Regions from separate parts of the Homo sapiens genome. Here region 2 is linked to region 1. The links are contacts of gene promoters, found by promoter capture Hi-C in blood cells and fetal thymus (Javierre and others, 2016). All regions are on one chromosome and are shown on one strand. Each heading gives the region's core, a stretch centred on a gene start or on the middle of the fragment in contact. The rest is flanking DNA. Distances are from core to core; before and after follow the strand shown. Region 1 holds the start of SP1 (Sp1 transcription factor). Region 2 overlaps ATP5F1B (ATP synthase F1 subunit beta).

Region 1 (4,480 bases), core at 712-3,211:
CAGAGCCAAAGGGGATGGCTGGGACTCCTGGCCGAAAATAAGGGAGAGGAAAGGAGTTAGTGACACCCAGCTGCCAGCCTAGGGGGCAGTATACAACAAATAAACAGCAACGTAGTGCAGACAAGGAGCAAAAAACAGAAACAAAAAGCTGACCTATCTGTATTGCTGAAACTCCTTTGTCTTTGGGGATCTCCATTCTCTTACTTCCTTATCTATAAAATGGTTTAGTCTCTCCCTAAAACGCTTTCTGTGAAGAGTAAGGCAATTATCTAAGAATATTTACATCTTCTCAACACCTTCCCCACTCTATGATTATCACTTACCTGCCCTCCTCCTCCAGTGCTGCTGCTACTGCCTGTGCTGCTACTTCGAGCCTGTGAAAAGGCACCACCACCATTACCATTGCCCCCATTATTGCCACCAACTCCTTTTTCAATTTTCACCACAGCTGTCATTTCATCCATGGAGTGATCTTGGTCTAAAATAATTAAAAAACAAACAACGTAAACTTGAGGGAAGAAAAGAAATGAAGTAGGAAGGATAAAAGGAGGCTATGATGAAATAGCAATGACTAACAGGAAGGCGAAAGCCACCAGTATAAAGAAAATGGATTGGAGGGCAGAGGGGAGCTGCAGGGCATGCAGGACATGAACTAGGTTCAATGTGCCAAAAGTGGGCCTTAATTCTCCCTTGTACAAAATTAAACTAAGAAAACATTCAAAAAGTGCTTTGGGGATAGGAAATGTGAAGGACGGTAGGCATGGTGAGAGTTTCTAAATAAGAAAAAGTATCCTAAGGGAAAAAAAGGAAAAGGACAGGTAAGGCATAAAACAACATGTGGGTGCATGGAAAGCTTGCTAAAATTAAGTTTAAAAGAGATGGAGAGGCCAGGCGCGGTGGTCACGCCTGTAATCCCATTACTTTGGGAGGCGGAGGCAGGCAGATCACCTGGGGTCGGGAGTTTTGAGACCAGCCTGACCAACATGGAGAAACCCTGTCTCTACTAAAAATACAAAATTAGCCGGGTGTGGTGGCGCATGCCTGTAATTCCAGCTACTCCCGGAGGCTGAGGCAGGAGAATCGCCTGAATCCGGGAGGCAGAGGTTGCAGTGAGCCGAGATCGCACCATTGCATTCCAGTCTGGGTAACAAGAGCGAAAACTCCGTCTCAAAAAAAAAAAAAAAAAAAAAGACAAACAAAAATCCAAGTGTGAAAAGTAACGAGAGGGGAAAAAGAAGTAAAAAGTGTGAGTAGAAAAACATTTGTGAATACTGCTAAGGAACTAAAGGGATCTACAGGTTAGTAGTCAGAAGGTTTCGGGGCGGAGGGCGGGCCCTGAGGGAAAGGGCGGTTTCGGGGTGAGGGGCGTGGAAAGGGCGGGACGGTGGGGGGCGGGGGGGAAGGGAAATCTACGGAAAGTGGGGGGAGGAGGGCCTTGGAGCAGGCGGCGACCAGAGGGCGGACCAGGCAGGCGGTTGGCCCGGGCGGGGCCTTCGCTGCTCGGGCCGCCCCCGCGGCTCCAGCCCCCGGCGGGAGGAGCCTCAGGCGGGCGGCCGAGTAGTGGGGGGTAAGGCCCGTCCCCCGTGGCCGGGGCGGGCAGGGGGCGGGCGAGGCCACGCTGCCCCCTCCCCCGGGGCGGGCGGCCCATCCCCCTCCTCCTCGGAGGCCCCGCCACTGCCCCGTCTCCCTCCCTTCCCTCCGCCCCGGGCGGGACCTAGGCCGCCGCCGCCGCCGCCTCCCGCCCGCCCCCGCTTCACGGCGGGGATCGCCCGGTCGGCCCTCGCGCGCGCCCCCTCACTCGCCTCCCACCCCTAAGCTTGGAGTGGACTCATCCTTACCGCTCATGGTGGCAGCTGAGGGACAAGCTCAAGGGGGTCCTGTCCGGGGGGGTTGGGGGGGGCCGGGAAAAACGCGGACGCTGACGAGGCAAGCGAACCCGGACCGGACAGGGAGGGGGGGGTAAGGAGGAGGGAGCAGCGCGCCACAAGCCCAACCTAGGCCCCGCCCCTTCTCTGCTGCCCCGCCCAATGAGGGAGGGGGAAAGGAGGGACTTGCAGAAGAAAGACGGTGGAATTATCCAATGGCAAGACTCGCTTGCTCTCCAAGGCGTGTGAGACTAAGTTGCGTGCCTGGTGTCCGCCTAAAAAGACCGCCCTCTCAGTGTTAAAAGCCAATGAAGGATGCAGGAAGTGAAGATGGGCGGGAGCTGGAGATGATTGGCTTGGAAGGAAACCAGTCAACCGGCAGGCGGGCTCCCTGAGACGTAGGGATAGGCAAAGCTTTGATAGGAATGACAGAACAACGGCCAACCAGAATCCGGGATATGCTTGGGCAAAATCCTAGTGGGCGGAGAGGTAAGAAGTAGGCAGGAATAGGAGAGGATGAAGCTGATTAAAACCAATCAGAAATCAGGCGGGCAGCCAGGAACGTTATGATTGGAGTTAGACTGAAAAGAGACAGGAAAGGACGCATATTGACGTGAACTAAAAGCCAATTAAACGCCGAATTAACTGAGGGCGGAAACTTGGAGTGGCAGAGGAGAATTGGCGGCTCCCTCAGTTATTCAATCCAATGAGGGGACGAAGTAGGCCTGGCACCGCCTCCTAGTTAGCCAATGGGCGTTACTGGAGCTGCCCATCATGAGGGAGGGAAGAGGGCTATGCCAAGAGGAGACCGTCGCCATATTGGCCCTCCTCAGGGGACGTTGTTACAGTCATTAGGTGGGACGCTTTAGCGGAGTCCTGCAGCTCAACAGGTGTCAGAGCCAAGGCATTCGGCGCGCAGTTCCGCATCAACACTAGGACTTGTTTGCGTCTTCATTTAACTGCCCCTATAAAGTACCTCTCAAATCTTACCCCCCTCCCGGGTGGTCGGACAGGCGGGCAGATGCCTCAATGTCGCTGCAAGCCCTGGGAATGCAGGCGGGACGAGATCTGGTGACAGCACTCACCGAATAAGTTAATACTGAGCTGACCAATATGCAGAGTCTCCGTGAGACTCCAGAAAACGCGATTTTATTAAGTTCCCCCAGACAAAGGCGCTAACCACTTAAACGACTGGTTAACTTTTCAAGCCTTGAGGCTAAAGTGCGGATAAGTCACTTCCATTTTTTCCCCCTTAATAGTAAATACCGCCTATGCATAAAGCAAGATAGCTGAGCTCCAGCTTTTTGCAATCACGAAGGTTAAGAAACTTTACTGCAGGCACCTGGATTTCTGGCCTCCTCTTTATCCGTGTTTTGGTGGAGCCGGCCTTAATAGCTTGTCAATGACACGATGAGGTCATGTCCTTCAGTATTTGTATCTTATATGTTGTCACCTGCTTATATGTTCTTATGTTTTAAAATGTGAATTCTCCTAAACTATTTTAAGCCCTTTGAAGGTAAGAACTGAGGCCTCTGCTGCTTTAAACAGGTAAAAAGGTGAAGTGATTGCTGACTGCCTACCGTGTTAGGTGCCTAAGTCAGGGAGGCAGTTAGTATTCCATGTCATCCTTAAAAGGAAGATTTTATTAAGTATCAGCTATATTATGTATTTTATAAGTGAAGACATTTAGGCTGAGAAGTGACTTACCCAAGGTCACAAAGCAAATGAGTTGTAGTGTTAGATTCCAACCCAGAATAGTTCCACCAAAAGTTTTCTATAAATTCTTGAGGGAATTAAACTGCCGCCGGGCGCAATGGCTCAGACCTGTAATCCCAGCACTATGGGAGGCCGAGGCGGGCGGATCGCTTGAGCCCAGGAGTTAAAGACCAGCCTGGGCAACATGGTGAAACCCCGTCTCCACAAAAAATAACAAAAATTAGCCAGACGTGGTGATGTGCGCCAGTAGTCCCAGCTACTCGGGAGGCTGGGGTGGAAGAATCGCTTGAACCCAGGAGGTTGAGGCTGCAGTGAGCTCAAATCCTGCCACTGCACTCCAGCCAGGACAACAAAGCAAGACCTTGCTCCAAAATAAGTAAATATATAGACTGGGCGCGGTGGCTCATGCCTGTAATCCCAGCATTTTGGGAGGCCGAGGCAGGCGGATCACCTGAGGTCAGGAGTTCAAGACCAGCTTGACCAACATGGAGAAACCCCGTCTCTACTAAAAATATAAAACTAGCCAGGCATGGTGGGACATGTCTGTAATCCCAGCCACTTGGGAGGCTGAGGCAGGAGAATCGCTTGAATCCAGGAGGCAGAAGTTGTAGTGAGCCAAGATCGTGCCATTGCACTCGGGCCTGGGCAACGACAGTGAAACTCCATCTCAAAGAAAAAAAAAAAAGTAAATATATAGATGCTTTTTAATTTTTACTGTCTAGCTCCTGAAAAAAAAAAAAAAAAGCCTACTCCCAGGACGGATCAAATGGCATCATCCTCTTAGATACCTTTATTATAAAATTTATCAGAATACATGACAATTAATTTCATCTCTCACTGTATCAAGGTTTCTCAAAATGAAATGTCACACACTCTCAGAATCCTCTGGGTTCTTTTTT
Region 2 (4,338 bases), core at 1,199-3,698, 3.3 Mb before region 1:
ATCCCAACATTGTTGGCAGTGAGCATTACGATGTTGCCCGTGGGGTGCAAAAGATCCTGCAGGTGAGTATATTACTATGTGGGATCAGTGTCCGGAAAGTCAAAAAGAGGGCCTGTGGGGACTATATGAGGACTGGATCTTTCTTAGTGATTTGTTTTGGAGCAAGGAAAGTTGAGGCTGGCAATTGCTAGTGAGAGCTAATGAGGTCTCTTGAGTTTCCAGGTACTTAACGCTTTGGAATGCAATATTTTTCTTTCTTTTTTTTTTTTTTTGAGATGAGTCTCACTGTGTCTCCCAAGCTGGAGTGCAGTGGTGCCATCTCGGCTCACTGCAACCTCCGCCTCCCAGGTTCAAGCGATTCTCCTGCCTCAGCCTCCTGAGTACCTGGGATTACAGGTGCGCGCCACCATGCCTGGCTACTTTTTGTATTTTTAGTAGAGACCAGGTTTCATCAGTTGGTCAGGCTGGTCTCGATCTCCTGACCTCATGATCCACCCACCGTGGCCTCCCAAAGTGGTGGGATTACAGACGTGAGCCACTGCGCCCGGCGGAATGCAATATTTTTCTAACAGCACCAAACTAGGACTATGGAGAACAAGACACTGATCTTTCTTGGCTGAGGGCCCTCATAACACCACCACCTTCTCTGCCCCCTAGCATGTAACTTTCCCTTTGTTAGCTTGTCCAAATTAAAGGAATGAGAATACTTAACTCAGTCTTCTTTTTTCTCATAGGACTACAAATCCCTCCAGGATATCATTGCCATCCTGGGTATGGATGAACTTTCTGAGGAAGACAAGTTGACCGTGTCCCGTGCACGGAAAATACAGCGTTTCTTGTCTCAGCCATTCCAGGTTGCTGAGGTCTTCACAGGTCATATGGGGAAGCTGGTACCCCTGAAGGAGACCATCAAAGGATTCCAGCAGATTTTGGCAGGTGAGATTTTGAGTACAAATCTTGAATGTTTACTGTGCTGTGGTCCCATTCCAACAACCGTCAAGCAATATATGTAATATACTATGCTTAATTATATTTTTTAATTTAAAAAACAAACTTACCCATTGATTTTGTTTGAAAATACTCTACATTTAATTTGAGTGTGATTTGTTACTTGATTCTCTAGCTCCCTTTTATTTTATATGTATTTTTTGAGACTGAGTCTCTGTCGCCCAGGCTGGAGTACACTGGTGCAATCTTGGCTCACTGCAACCTCCACCTGCCGGGTTCAAGTGATTCTCCAGCCTCAACCATCCAAGTAGCTGGGATTACAGGCACACGCCACCACGCCTGGCTAATTTTTGTATTTTTAGTAGCCATGGGGTTTCACCATGTTGGCTGGGCTTGTCTCGAACTCCTGACCTTAGGTGATCCGCCTGCCTTGGCCTCCCAAAGTGCTGGGATTACAGGTGTAAGCCACCGTGCCTGGCCCATGTGTTCTTAATTCATACTGTATCATATCTTGTAAATTTGATTTGTGAGGGAAATTTAAGCTTTCTAAGATGACATGAATTCATCACATTCTAACTGATGGCCTGAAGTGGTGAGGAATGTTACATGATGCAGAAAGTTGATATCCCTCCGCTTCTTACTCTTTTTTTTTTTCTCCCCCATCATACAGGTGAATATGACCATCTCCCAGAACAGGCCTTCTATATGGTGGGACCCATTGAAGAAGCTGTGGCAAAAGCTGATAAGCTGGCTGAAGAGCATTCATCGTGAGGGGTCTTTGTCCTCTGTACTGTCTCTCTCCTTGCCCCTAACCCAAAAAGCTTCATTTTTCTGTGTAGGCTGCACAAGAGCCTTGATTGAAGATATATTCTTTCTGAACAGTATTTAAGGTTTCCAATAAAATGTACACCCCTCAGAATTTGTCTGATTCTCTTGGTTCTGACAACATAGTCAACACTGAAGGGTTATGTATTTAATTTTAGTTTTAGAGACACGGTGTCTGGCTGTGTTGCCAAGACTGGTCTCTAACTCCTGGGCTCGAGATCTCCCACCTCAGTCTCCTGAGTAGCTGGGGCTACAGGTGTATGTAGTCTCACATCACCAGCACTGTTTTCAACAATTAGATTTTTAGAGTGGCTATAAGAAGCAGTTTCAGCATGAAGTGGGCCATGTATGTTTGAAATTGGTCCTTAAAAATAGCCATTCTCTTTTGTTGATGGACAACCGTACCTCTTGTGAGGGGTTTCCTGTGGGTAGTGTGATCTTAGTAGGGCCTCAGTTTTGGGCCTTTTGTTCAATACAAATTGATTTTTTTTTTTTTTTGGCCTCTATTCCATGTGGCACATCCCTACTTCTTGGTTAAAAATAGGACTTTTTTGAAGGGCATATTGGGAAAAACTCGTTTTAGAAATAACTTATTTCCAGGGGTTAATCTGAGTTTAATGAATTAAATTTTCAAGAAATAGTGATGAAGAATACTGATCTTTGTTAAAATGGAATCAAAAGGGTTCTCTACATCTTGGTTAGGCCTTCATGTCTTCAGAAAGTGTACTTAACTACTTCCTGACATTTTGGGCAAGCCTAAATAAAAGTTGCTTGTGATTCCTTGAGGCTATGCAGAGGCATATAATACCATAAGGCCTAGTCCACCCTCTGTGAAGATCCCCTTATGAAAGTCCAGAAAAGATAATCTTACAAGGGAATAGCAATTTTCAGAGTTGCTGGCTTGGGCTTCTAAACTAATGAAGTTAGGTTATTTTCCCTTCATTTTAGCCGACTGAGAGGTGCAGGGGTAGAAGATATATTTTACCATTTCAATTTAAAAGAAGCGTGCAAGGTCAGATTGGGTTCCTCTTGTGTTCTTTTCCGGGACCAGACCCATCCGACTGCCCTCTCGCGGTAGCACTGGAGACTCTGCAAGAACTCTGATCCCATTTTCAAATCCATGAAGGCCATTTGCTGGGATGTGGCTCTCAGTTAAAGACTGTTTACAGACCAGCTGGGGCTTTTGTCCTGGGGAGGAGCCTGTATCTATAAGCTCCACCCGCTGAGTCCATCAAGTTAGGTAGAAGCTGGGCGGGGACAAGCTGAGCTCCAATTCAGAGGCCCCTGGGGGCTGAAGGTTGGGGAGGGCTTTTTGGCGCGGGGCCAGGGGTGGAGTAGGGGCCTCTAAGCTTCCTTCCATCTGCCTGTGACGTCCTTGGCAGCAGCCTCTCCCGCAGTCTCTCCTGTGTCATGATCTGGACAGAAGGTGGAGCCCCTGAGCTGCTTGTGCTGGTAGTTTGCTCCCAGAAAAGCTGGGATTTGGGGAAATGCTGAGTTATGGGGGTGTGGACACTTCCTCTAGGTCCTGACTCTGGAGTGGGTAAGAAGCTGGTAGAAAAAGCCCTAGGGTACAGGTCAGCCCTTTCTGCTTTGTTTTCTCACGTCACCCGATACAGACCTGGGAACTGAAATCCTAAAGGTCTTTTGCATCCCTCCACCCCTTCCCCCAACATGTTCACGTCCTTCAGCGTTTATCGAGAACCTTCTCCCTCTCAGTAGCTGCAACTATTTGTTTCCTTCCCCCTTTGCCGGCCTCTTCTACCATGCCACTGGAGTGTCAACACAGCTCTCTAACCTTCCTCCATATTTCTCCTGGTCTGCCCTGTCCTCGCCTCCTCCCTCTCTCCACCCAGAGAAAGCCCCGCCCTTCCCTCCTCCCTCCCCACCCCAGTCTGTCACACAGGGACATCACCCTACAGCAGTTCAGGCTGTGTGGTTCGCAGGAAGCATACACTGGCTTTTTGATTCTTGCTAGTTCCCAGCTCACAGTTTGGGAGGATCCAACACCAACCTTTACGTGAAGTGGAGGCCCAAGGACAGTGAGGAGCTGGGTGGTCCCAGCCTGGAGCTGTGCCAGCCTGACATGGGTGAGTATGGGGACCAGCCCCGGGGAAGGCCTGAGGGATGCCTACTCCCTCCCTGGCTGACTCAGCAGGGGTGGGGCCTAACCTTTGCTCATTTGGGGGCTGAAGGAGAGGAAACAGGACTCTGGGGGACGGGGGGCACAGGGCTCAGCTAGCGAGGCTGCCGACCACGGGATCCTGAGTATGGGCAAGCCCCAGTTCTAAGGAAGAGCCTGAGACGCATCTTAGGCCAGGGCTTTCCCAGCCCCCTCCCCGCCGCCCCGTGGAGGATTGCCCCTGCTCCTCCCCATTTAAGCTGTTGAGATTCAAGGAAATTTTGACAGTACTCACTGCTAGCCCCCACAAAAGTAAAGCCGGCTTTTGGCAGTGCTGGAAGGTCTTTAAAATGCCTCCCCTCCCTCTCATTTTTCTAAGGCCTTTTAAGTCTGTCTTCTCTCCTCCCCCACCTTGACCCACCTTCAGGTGGGGGCTGCACTGAGCA

The links. The method cuts DNA at HindIII sites, captures the fragments that hold promoters and counts their contacts. A CHiCAGO score of 5 or more calls a contact.
Region 2: a contact is called between a fragment that was not itself captured here and the fragment with the promoter of SP1 in region 1, in 1 of 17 cell types (total B cells). The highest score is 5.8, in total B cells.

What each region holds. Positions count from the first base shown.
Region 1 is chr12:53,377,657-53,382,136 of GRCh38, reverse strand. It overlaps SP1 (Sp1 transcription factor), which reads right to left and starts at 1,961. Exons shown (of 6, transcript NM_138473.3): 1 at 1,839-1,961; 2 at 324-478; 3 at 1-27. The coding sequence starts at 1,845. RefSeq lists enhancers at 1-16, 429-1,187, 2,038-2,332, 2,165-2,464, 2,368-2,868 and a silencer at 1,295-1,924. The HindIII fragment of the contact is 463 bases long and covers 1,819-2,281 here.
Region 2 is chr12:56,635,704-56,640,041 of GRCh38, reverse strand. It overlaps ATP5F1B (ATP synthase F1 subunit beta), which reads left to right. Exons shown (of 10, transcript NM_001686.4): 8 at 1-62; 9 at 735-936; 10 at 1,619-1,867. The coding sequence ends at 1,719. It also overlaps a transcript of BAZ2A not described here. Among named protein-coding and RNA genes, the nearest start is that of SNORD59B, 5.9 kb to the left of the region's middle. RefSeq lists enhancers at 2,863-3,157, 2,650-3,161, 3,135-3,304, 4,188-4,338. The HindIII fragment of the contact is 1,353 bases long and covers 1,772-3,124 here.